Regions from separate parts of the Homo sapiens genome. Here region 2 is linked to region 1. Evidence: promoter capture Hi-C in human tissues and cell types (Jung and others, 2019). All regions are on one chromosome and are shown on one strand. Each heading gives the region's core, a stretch centred on a gene start or on the middle of the fragment in contact. The rest is flanking DNA. Distances are from core to core; before and after follow the strand shown. Region 1 holds the start of OTOR (otoraplin). Region 2 has its middle 74 kb from the start of KIF16B.

Evidence for each region. Contacts are between HindIII fragments. The study calls those that stand out against the background at their distance.
Region 2: a fragment that was not itself captured here is called in contact with the fragment with the promoter of OTOR in region 1 in 2 of the 25 tissues and cell types used here (H1 embryonic stem cells and IMR-90 fibroblasts).

Annotation. Positions count from the first base shown.
Region 1 is chr20:16,744,741-16,750,824 of GRCh38, reverse strand. It overlaps OTOR (otoraplin), which reads right to left and starts at 2,467. Exons shown (of 4, transcript NM_020157.4): 1 at 2,309-2,467; 2 at 1,819-1,958; 3 at 815-922. The coding sequence starts at 2,423. The HindIII fragment of the contact is 9,309 bases long and covers 1-6,084 here.
Region 2 is chr20:16,644,514-16,650,146 of GRCh38, reverse strand. No RefSeq gene overlaps it. Among named protein-coding and RNA genes, the nearest start is that of KIF16B, 74 kb to the right of the region's middle. The HindIII fragment of the contact is 5,222 bases long and covers 1-5,089 here.

The sequences.
Region 1 (6,084 bases), core at 1,218-3,717:
ATGAGCAGTGTTTGAAGCACAACAATTAGCTCCAGAAGAATCACTTCAAAACAAGCACCTTGCAAAGTAGCTCAGAAAGCATCTTTTATTTCTGTCCTGAGTTTACAGGACCCCAGGGCATTAGGAAGAGTATAACTTTATTTCATACATAAATAGAATCTATTTACCACAAAAATAAGACATTCAAAGATTGTTCTAGAATATTTCGATTTGATCAAAAACATAATAATTTTTTTTCAGCCTATCTTTAGTGAAAACCATCTGTAAGAGTCAGTGCTGACTTTGGTTTCTTTATTTGTTACATAGACTGCTTTGCAAGACAACTTGCATCTAAAACAAAAGAGGTACTGTATTGTATACTTGAAATTTACTAAGAGGGCAGATCTTAATGTTTTCACACACACACACACACACACACACAAAGGTAACTATGTGAGGTGATGTATGTGTTAACTAGCTTGAATGTGATGATCATTTCACAATGTATATCAAAACATAATGTATGCATTAAATGTATGCAATTTTTATTTGTCAATTATAACCCAATAAAGCTGAAAAAATATAGAAAAAAGATGAGACAAAAAGTAGTAAACTGAAATAAAACAAAAGGGGGTGGTATAGAGAAAGTTTACTCATCTTTCAACTTTGACAGTAGTTATAAATGGTCCCCCAAACCTCATTATCTCAGAAAAGTCGCCACTGAAAGTTGGAGGCTTTGTTCTATACAACTTGTAAGTTGCATGATGCATTTTTAACACCGGCCTACATTGCCCCAAGATCTGAGTCCTTGTCTAGTCACTTTTGAGATGCTTACCGTGGTGGGAACTTCCTTGGTAGCTTCCTGGTACACACGCTGTTCCTTGACCAAGTTCCTGGGGAAATAACCCACGACTCCCATCTCGTCCTGGCCATCACCATAAACCTAAGTGCCCAGAAGAATAGCAATCAGGAAAAAGCTGATGCTGAGTGTCTTCTGAGAAACTCGCAGGCGTCCTCTTTGCTGATAGTGAGAATCATAGCTGCCAATACCTCCCTTTCACTCCGGGGTCCAGGGGGCGCTGCGGCAAATCCGAAGTTTACTTGGAGCACTAAGTTAACCCGCAGGAATTGTGCATCTACTGTTTAGTGGCCCAGTCTTATTTCGCTACTTTAGCATGACTTTATTTTACGCAATCTTGTGAGTTGCCTGAAATCTTTTTTGAACCCATAAATAAATATATAAAGACAGTACATTTTTTTAAAGTACTGTAGACACTTATTTTAAATGATGCAAATTTCTCAGTTTTCAACAATTCAAATGAACAGACTTAAATGGCTTTAAATTTAATCCTTCATTAATTTAGAACTTACCTTTAGGGTTGCAGATGAGGACAGAAAATCATCCCTGCTTCATCCCTCCCCAGGGACCGCCCCTGTATATTTTAACTGAAGAACGCTGATTCTTTCGAATTAATTAGGGTGCAAAGTTTCCTAAAAGAATATTGATACTTAGACTCACTGCCAACACACATGCCTTCTACTTGGCAAATCTTCTCAGACGTTTTCGGATAAGATTCAAATTCTTTGGGATGTTTAAGCCCCCATGTATTTGACTCTTTTTTTACCAAAATATCACATTAACCTACATTTGGTTTTGTTACGAAATTGATCTTTCTTTCTTTAAAATGCAATAGCAAATATACCTGAATTTTTGCATTTCCATCTACAATCACTACATGGTTCTTAACAACTAGTATTAAGCATTAAAATAGGTTGAAGGTAGGTAATCAAGGAAAGGTTAAGAGCAATATTCGTCAATAGGTGTTTAAATTATCTTACACTGCCAGCCCAAAATTCTCCAGCTCCATTTTCTTTTACCAGCTTTGAGTACACATAGATCTGCTGCCCTTTTTTAACGTTAATGAATCTACAGTCCGGGGCATTATAATCTTCTTGAGCACTAGCCAGAGAAATAGTATCTGGAAGAAAAAAAATTTAAATGATTACATTTTAGGCTCCTGAATTTTATAACAGTAAAAGGCAATGTATATTAGAAAAACTAGAAAATCAGAGTGACTGATAATTCCCAGTTCATAGCTGGTGTCTATCCAAGAGAAAGAAGACAGCCAAGATATTAAAGCTGCAACAAAACTCAGCCAAGTGAATTCTCCGTAGTAAGATACCAAACATGCAGACCAGAAGAAACAAAGCTGATAACATACACATTGGAGAAGATTCACTTCAAAGTATAATTCGATTTTATGCTATTAGTGGATATATTTTCAATTATGTAATAGAAAGATAATGAAAAGCATAAAAAAGTCCTTACAGACACACTCATCATCTGCACAGAGCTTCTTGGAAGCTAGACGGTCCATAAATATTCCATGCACAGCACATACAGCCACAAGACCCGGGAGGAAAAGTAACAATATTCTTGCCATCTTCCTTTTTTCTGTTTTAACTTGAACTCTGACTGGAAGCGGGGACTGACTTCAGTGGTTCCTGCCTTTTATGTGAAAGCCAGAGCTCTGGGTAAATACCCTGGCCAATTAGAAGGGCCTACCACCCCTCCGTTTTCATAACAGGCTGCTCGGCTTCAGGGGCTATTTAGCGTCTGATTTTCCAAACAGAGTCAAACTCTGTGTCTTTCTATACACAGATAATATCCAAAATGGTCCACTATTGTTAAAGCCGCTTTAGCAGTGGTCTATTGTATCAATCAGTAGGGCTTTGCTGAGAGGACTATGAGAATTTCAAACCATTTTTAGTTTTAATTCACCCCTAATTTTCCTTCAGCTTATGAGCAAAGACATACTAGTTGTAGGAATTTGTTGAAAATGTGAGATCTATAGCACAAATAATTTGATTTAAACAAATTCAATTAATAAATCTGGATTTACGTAATAGATAAATGAAAGATTCTTATGCTTACAAATCTTTCATGATAGGATTCTTAGAAGGCATGCCTGTCCCAGGCTAGAGATGAATTCTAACATACTAATTGATGCCCCATTTAGACCCTACCAGTGGGGAAAGAGATGGGTGGGTTGGGAAAAATAGGTCAATCTTTCCCCTACCTCTTCTCTCTAAGACTTTTGCAATTCAGTCTCAAATGCTCAAGGGTGACAGGTCAAAGAGAAGAGAGTGAAGTTACAAGTTTATGTTACCTGGAACTTCCTGCTTCTGAGCATGTTTCCCATGGGGAGAGGAGCACTCCTAGAGGCACCAAAGTGGAACCGCCAGTCCCTAGCTCCGTCTATTCAGCAAATATTTACTGAGCACTTACTGTGCCAGGTATAGTTCTGGGCACTAAAGATATAGCAGTAAATTTAAAAAAAATATTTTGGCCCCAAGTGTTGCTTTCTATTAGAAGAGACAGACAGTAAGTTACTGCTTTTTATAGGGTGTTTGAGGCTGGCATCTCTCCCATAAGGTGGCCCTTCCCCTGTTCTTATCCATTGCTTCTAGAATAGAGATCCTCTCAGGATGCCTTCTCCACCTTGGTTGATGATGTGACTTCGGAGCAGTGCCTTCTCCCCCAACCCCAAAGTCGTAACCTCATAAAATGAGGGACAAGAATTTAACTTACTAAATAATTTTGTGCAATACAATTTCCCAAGGGATAAATGGGTAAGGCAAAATATAATAAAAAGGTTTTTTGTTTTGGGTATATGTGTGTGTGTGATAGAGTTGTATTGGTTTGAGTGCATCTGTGTGTGTATGTAAAAGAGTTTTGGTGTGGGTATGGGTGTGGGTATGTGTGGCTGTGTGTGAGTGTGTGTGTGTGGCTGTGTGTGTATGTGTGTGTGACTTTCAAGGGAGGATCTTTTATATAGCTGGTCCTGATTGGAAAGTCTGTTTTATTCATACCTTCATTATAGACAAGGAAACTGAGGCACAGCAAATGCCAGAGTGGTCTTTTTGTTTTTTGTTGCTTTTTTTTTTTTTTTTTTTTTCCGAGATGGAGTATTGCTCTGTCACCCAGGATGGAGTGCACTGGTGCAATCTCGGCTCACTGCACCCTCTGTCTCCAGGGTTCAAGCAATTCTGCTGCCTCAGCCTCCCAAGTAGCTGGGCTGGCAGGTGTGCACCACCATGCCCAGCTAATTTTTGTATTTTTAGTAGAGACGGGGTTTCACCATATTGGCCAGCCTGGTCTCAAACTCCTGACCTCAAGTGATCCGCCCTCCTCAGCCTCCCAGAATGCTGGGATTACAGGCATGAGCCACCGCACCTGTCCTAAAGTGGTCATTTTGAACCATCCTATCTAAAGGTTACCAGAGGGATCATGGTTCAATGCTATTTCAATTCATTGTTGTCAACTTGGAATTGACAAATTAGAATAAATCATTTATTTCCTGTTTCACATCAAGGAAAGATTGAATTCGATATTATTTTTGAAAGCAGAATGCCTTTCCAATTTTTCCCCTGTAATCAATCTAAAGGTCTAAATTTCTGGGAAAACTAAAGCATTGATTAAATCTTCTTAATCCTGATTGCGCAGCTGTTTTATGGACTGTTCCAGTCTCAAACCAGCCCTCAGCATAGGAGAGTTAAAAGACAATTGTCATTTAAGAGGCACTTGAAGAAATGGGGACTGCAAAAACTCCCCATTGGGGAGCATATACAGATCCCCAAAAGCAGGATAAAATGATTAAAAACAAAAAGCAAAATGTGACATTCAAGCTATCACAACTTAGAAAATCAGGCTAATGCTAACGTGAAGCCATTATTGGACATTTGAAGGTGAAGAAATAAAGTAATGAGATAACCAAGCCTTCTGAGTGCAGCCTGGGAAAGCTTGTGGTGTTCTGGCATTCTAAAGTGGCAGACACAGGACAGAAGCTAGAGGCTTCTTGGTAAAATTGCATGCAAATAGGAATTTGAACTTGCAATAATTCAGCAAGTAGCTGTGTCTGGCAGTTATGCCAAAGACACTGGGGCCACTGGGGGTTCAGTGAGGGTTCTGGCCCCAGTTTTCATACTCGTTCCTCTAGATTTTCAGACGTATTCTCCAAACATTCAATCCCTAAATGACATTTTTCCCCTTCAGTTCCTAAATTAGATTCTCTGTCTGGAGTTCTTAAATGGAGGCCATGGCTCCTTTAGGATCTAAGCATGGGCTCGGTCAAGTGCAGGCAGCCTCCTTGTCATGGCCTACAAGCTCCTGTAGGATCAGGCCCTTCTACCTCTGGGATTTCACCTTTTGCTCTCTCCTCCACTCGCTCTGTTCCTCCCATACCAGTTCTCTCTAACTTTTGAAAACACTAAACTCATTTCTGCTTCAGGTGCTCCGAACTTACCACCTAGGATGCTTTTCCCCAGATACTGGCATTCAGGTTCCTGGCCAAGATGCCTCCACAGACAGAACAATTTAAAAGAGCCACTTCAAACCTTCCTCCACCCAATCCCTGTATCACGTGGCTGCAGTACACTGTCCTAAGGCATGTATCATAGCTGACATGCCTGCTTTATTTACTTAGTTTGTCTTCCAACCAACAGTATAATGAAAGCTCCACAAGGCAGGCATCTTTGCTATCTTGTTCCTCACTCTGTCATTAGCACCCGGAAAGATACTTGGTGTGCATTAAATAGGTATTCACTGAATGAATGCACAATTGCTCCGAAATTGTACGCATAGGGGTGTGTGTGTGTGTGTGTGTGTGTGTGTGTGTGTATGCATGCATTTTTCCCCTGGGCAAAGTCCCTGGCTTTAAAAACAGATTGATAACACCTCTAAGAGTCATTGAATAAATCATTAGGGTAGAAACTCTGGGGTCTTGCAACTTGCCACCAAAACATGGTCCCCAGACCAGTAACTTTGACATCACTTTATAGAAATGAAGTTTCTCAGACCTCACCCCGGAGACACAATCTAAATCTACGTTTTAATGAGATACTCAAGTCACCTGTATGCACATTAACATTTGAGAAGTACTGTTTCCAGGCAAGTAAAATACCGTAATTTTAGCTCACATTCTTCATAAGGTCTTGGCTGGATATATTTTCAAGGAAAAACAAATGCTTGTTAAATACTCAAACAGAAGATACTATAAGGCTTAAAGTTTAAAATGGAGTTTTGAGTTTCTTGCAACTGAGGTA
Region 2 (5,633 bases), core at 1,229-3,728, 100 kb after region 1:
ACAGTGAGGAGTTAACTGGATGAATGTGACATCCTTTGAGGATATCTGAATTTTCTAGGAGGCTTTTAGAGTCTACAAAGTTTAACCTAAACAAATGTGAGTGGAGTTTTTTTGTTTTTTATATTTTTTTGAGACAGAGTCTTGCTCTGTTGCTCAGCCTGGAGTACAATAGAGTGATCTCGGCTCACTGCAACCTCTGCTTCTTGGGTTCAAGTGATTCTTCTGCCTCTGACTCTCAAGTAGCTGGGATTACAGCCACACACCAACATGTCCAGCTAATTTTTGTATTTTTAGTAGAGACGAGGTTTTACCATGTTGGCCAGGCTGGTCTTGAACTCCTGACCTCAGGTGATCCACCTGCCTTGGTCTCCCAAAGTGCTGGGATTATAGGCGTGAGCCATCATGCCTGGCCAATAAATATATTTCTAATGATGGAAACTTGGGGACCATTTCGGGTGTGTGGTAACTTACTCCACTGGGAGACAAAGTCAGCCCTGAGGGAGTAAGAAGGCATCAACAAGATTGCCCTCTATCTAAGCTCTCAGGAACAGGAGATTCCAGAAGCTTTTATCCCTCTGATGACCTAGAACACCCACAAATCTCCATCTAAGGCAGGAAAGAAGAGCTGGATTGGTTCGTAAACTCATTTCCTCAGCTCAATGATTTCTTGAATGCACATTAGAAAAGCTAACAAGTATCAAGAGGCCAACATAGGGTTCCATCTGAGTAGAACACTGTTCCCCTAAGAACAGTGTATAAATATGCTTTGCACCATGCACATCTTCTTTAGCAACTATCTTAAGGATCTGATCAAGATGAGGTCAGGCGTGGTGGCTCACTCCTATAATCCTAGCACTTCGGGAAGCCGAAGTGGGTGGATCACCTGAGGTCAGGAGTTCGAGGCAGGGGAATCGCTTGAACCCGGGAGGTGGAGGCTACAGTTAGCCGAGATCGTGCCACTGCATTCCAACCTGGGCGACAGAGCGAGACTCTGTCTCAAAAAAAATTAAAAATTAAAAAAAAAATAAAGTCAAGGTGAGTCATGCCCCATACCAGGAAGACTGTTTCATCAAGGGCCATTGATAAAACAATCTACCACACCAGGCAACCATTTTTAAAGTCCTAACTATATACCAGACACTGGACTAAGCATTTCACATATGTTATATCACTTAATGTGTTGAAAAACCGGGTGCATTAGGTGCCTTTATTCGCACTTTACAGATATGAAACCGAGGTTCAGTGAGTTTGAGGAACAGGCTCAGGATCCCAGAGCCAGGATTCATGCATGCACCTGGCTCCCTCTAAAGTTTGTATTCTGAAACCACTAATTATACCTATCACAAAATACCAGAGGAAGGGAAGAAACAGAGGGAAAAGTGGGGATATTCTACTATCTGAAGTGCCTTAAATTACCCTCAGGAAGAACCTCTGGCCAATATCTCAGAGATCCAAAGAAACAAAGCAAAGGGCTAAAGGAGTTAGGCAGCCCGGGTGGAAGCAATTTGATATTCCTTGCCTTTCCAAGGGTAGGCCTTTGTGTGAGAAGCCAAGGAACTCGAGTTAGACAGAGTCTGGGGTGACCCATCGTTACATGCATGATGCCAGCCCTGCAGTTGGTGAAAGCTGATAAAGAGCATGAACCCCACTGAGAGTCTGGTCATATTTAATTTCCGCTTTTGCCCAATTCCATGTTTAGTTTTAAGCCCTGCATTTGAAGATGCAAAGATATTAGACAAATTACATATTCCATCCAGCAGATAAAGTCAATGAAAGTGATTCGTCACAAGCTCCAGCAGAATGGGGATGCCGTTATCTTTGTTAGCAAATATGGGTATGGCTTGGAAAGTGAGCATCTCCATCAAGAGGCAGAAACCCTCTCCTTAGATAAAAATCTCATTAATAATTCTTTTCTCAAACAGGAGGAGAAGAAGAGATTTGTTGAGATGGAAACAGCAGAAACAGATAGCAGCAGTCCCCGGCTGCAGCCTGGGTGATTTGAAGGAAGGCACTAAAGGTTACATGAATGAGGATCATTAATATTCACGGCGGCATCTGGTGCTATGTTGCCAGGAGACAGTAATGAGAAAAGAGCATCTTCCAGGTCTAATGGCACTGCGGCTGCCACATCAATCCTGTCGTCCCCAGAAATGAGATCTCTATCATTTGCAAACAGGGAAGCGTTGGTGGCTTGGCTGTCATTCCAGAAGGTCACTAAAAGATATGTAGATGAGCTGCCCATATTTCTCGGGCTGACACTCACCAGGTTCCCTGAATAGTTTTGCCTTTTCAGGGACATGGTCTGACAAGCCAACTTATAAAAGGGTTACTTCTGTAACAGGGTATTTGCTCTTGATCCTTAGAATGTTTTGCTAAGTTCTGGCTTCTTGGATTGGAGCTCCCTCCAAATAGCTGCTGCAAACACTTCTTTGGAGGAAGGTAGCCTTGTCAATCTTGTGCTCTCATAACTTGTGTGAAGGTTGTAGCTTCTTCAACTGTAAACTGAAGAGTAGCAACCAAGAAAAGTAATCATAACCCCATAGCCCTGTGCCTCAGTTTGGGTTCTCCTACCAGCAGACCCTGAGACAGATTCCACTTAAAGTGTTTGCTTCTTCCCACTGGCAAATAGGATTATTAAAATGGGAGAGGTGTCCCAAGATCTTCCTTGTCTCTGCTCCCTCCATCACAGAGCTAGACATTTTCCTTCCACATGTTTAGAGGCTGGATAGGTGTAAAGCTCTTTATACGTTTGTATCATAATTTCCCACTTTCTTTGTTATTCTCACAACTTGATGAATTAAATGAGCCCAGGAGTTCAAGTTCAGCCTGGGAAGTGTAGTTAGACTCCATTTCTAAGAAATAAAATATTCAAAAATTATGCCTTCCTTACTTGTTGTGTGTCAGGGATGAAGATGCAATGGTGAAGAAAATTAGACAAAACCCTCACCCTAGTGGAATTACCAGTGGGTTAATATGGGAGACTGACACCAAATACATAGACAAATTTATTCATTCATTCATTGAACCAAATAGTTACTGCCACCTAGGCACTGAGGTCACAATACAGCATGGAATTAGACAAAAAAAAAAAAATGTTGCTTTCTTGGAGTTTACTACTTAGTAGGGGAAGAAACCTACAGTAGGTAGAAATAAATGCAATGAACTAAAATAAAAAGAAATAGAAGGGTTGGCGGACAGTTGTGCTGTTTTATCAGATGGTCAGGGAAGCCTCTCAGGGGAGGTTGCATTGAGCAGAGACTTGAAAGTGTCACTCAAACAGTGGTGTGCTGAGCCAGCTCACACTGGACCTCAAGAACCAGTGGAAAACATCTCTTCCCAACTCCACATTCAGGGGCATCATATTGGTATCTCAAAATCAGGTAGGAGGAATTACACACTAGAAACCAGCAAATGCTGTGAAAGAGGCTTTTGTTTGTTTGTTTGTTTGTTTAGAGTCAGTCATTAACCATTTACCAATATCGAACTTTCTGCAACTATCTAGGGAAAGATTCTTCATGGCAGAAGGAACATCCAGACAAAGGCTCTGGGCTGAAAGAGTGCTTTGTTTGTTTTTGTTTGTTGAGAAAGAAGAAGAACATATCTACAACAGTGATTCTCAAAGTGTGAACCATAGGATAGCAGCATCAGCATCACTTGAGAAATTTTTGGAAGTGCAAATTCTTAGGCGCCACCCTAGACCTACTGAATCAGAAACTCTGGGTATAGGGTCCAGAAATCTGTTTTCAAAAGCCCTGCAGGTGAGCCTGAGGCACAGGAGAGTCTGAGAAGTACTGGTCTAGACCTAGCACAGTTATCAAGTAGGAGAGTGTGAAAGGAAGGTTGGAGAAGTTACTGGGACTGGATCACGAAGGGCCCTACAAGCTTTGGTAAGAACTGATGATAGTTACATTTATTTGTCAGCTTGGCTGAGCGACAGCACACAGATATTCCATCAAACATTATGCTCAATGTTTCTGTGAGGGTATTTCTGAGTGAGCTTGACATTTAAATGGTGGACTTGGAGAAAAGCAGATTAGCCTCCATATTGTGGATGGACTTCATTGAATCCATTGAAAGTCTGAAAAGAACAAAATATTGATCTCACCAGAGCAAGAGGAAATTCAGCCAGCAGACAACCTTTGACTTCAACTGCAACATCAGTTCTTCCCTGGGTTTCCAGCCTAATAGCCCACCTTACAGATTTTAGACTTGCCAGCCTCCATAATCAAGTGAGCCAATTCCTCAAAGTAGATCTCTCTCACTCTTTCTTTGTCTCTCTCTCTCTGTACACACAGACACACACACACACACACACGCACATGCTTTTCATTCCATGGTTCTGTTTCTGCAGAGAACTAATACAGGACTCAAGCTTTTACTAAATGAAGTAAAAAAACAAATGTGGGGGAAGAGGAGTTGAAGCAGAGGCATGCCCTTACAGCTTATGTTTTCCAAGGTTTCCTCTACAGCTGGGGTCCTTTGGCCTATGGGCCAAATCCAGCCTTCAGTCCACTTCTGTGTACCAGGAACTAAGAATACATTTTACACTTTTAAAACGTTATAAATGCACCGGGACAAACACAAAGAAAAATATGCCACAGAGATGGCATGTGTTGTCCCAACTCTGAAATAGTTACTATCTGGTCTTTTACAGAAAAATATGCTGACCCCTGCTCTGCAACACCATGTACCTCCTGATATAATGTGCCGAGAAGGACACAATGTCACCTCTGTGCCTTTCTTGCCAACAATATATGACCTGAACTTAATCTTGAAGAAACATCAGACAAACCTAAATTGAGGGAAATTTTGTAAAATAACTGACATAGCCTCTTCAAAACTCTCAGAGCCACAAAATCATGAAGACTGAGGAATGGTCCCAGATTAAGTTAGGCTCAAGGAGACAAGACAACTATATTAACTTGTGATCCTGGATTGGAACCTTGTCCAGGAACAGAATGTTAGTGCAACAGTTGGTGACGCTTGATTAAAGCCTGTAGGTTAATTAACAGTATTGTATCAGTATTAACTTCATGGAATTAACACATCATCTGCGATGGATTAGGAGGTTAATATTTGGAGAAGCTGGGTAAAGGGTAAGCAGGAAACCTTTGTACTGATTTTTCAAATTTTTTGTAAATTATACATTATTTTTAATTGAGAATTTTAAAAAGAAAAAAAATTAAAAAAATCTAGCAAAAAAAAAAGGCTACAAGCTACTCTTTGGAAACTACAACATGTGGACACATTATACTGGCTTGGATTTGGATGGAAACAGCAGAGCGGATGAGTAACGGATTTGATTGGGATAAAATCTGAAGCTAAAGCTGACATAACTTGTTGATGGCATTAGAATTCTTTCATGTATAAGTTCTCCAACTTAAATAGAGTTAAACAAAAAGGAATTTATTAACTCACATAATAGGCATGGCTAGATTCAGTTCAAACAACATCTTCATGGGTCCTCATCCTCTTTCCACATGGCCCATTACTGCTTTCCTTTATAGTGACATAATTATCGGATTGGCCACTGTATCTTCAGGCTTATACCCTTCCTATGGCTAGCAATACCCTAGGAAAGAGGACTTCTCTTTTCCAAGTGGTCAAAGAGGCATCACAGAATAAAGTCATTA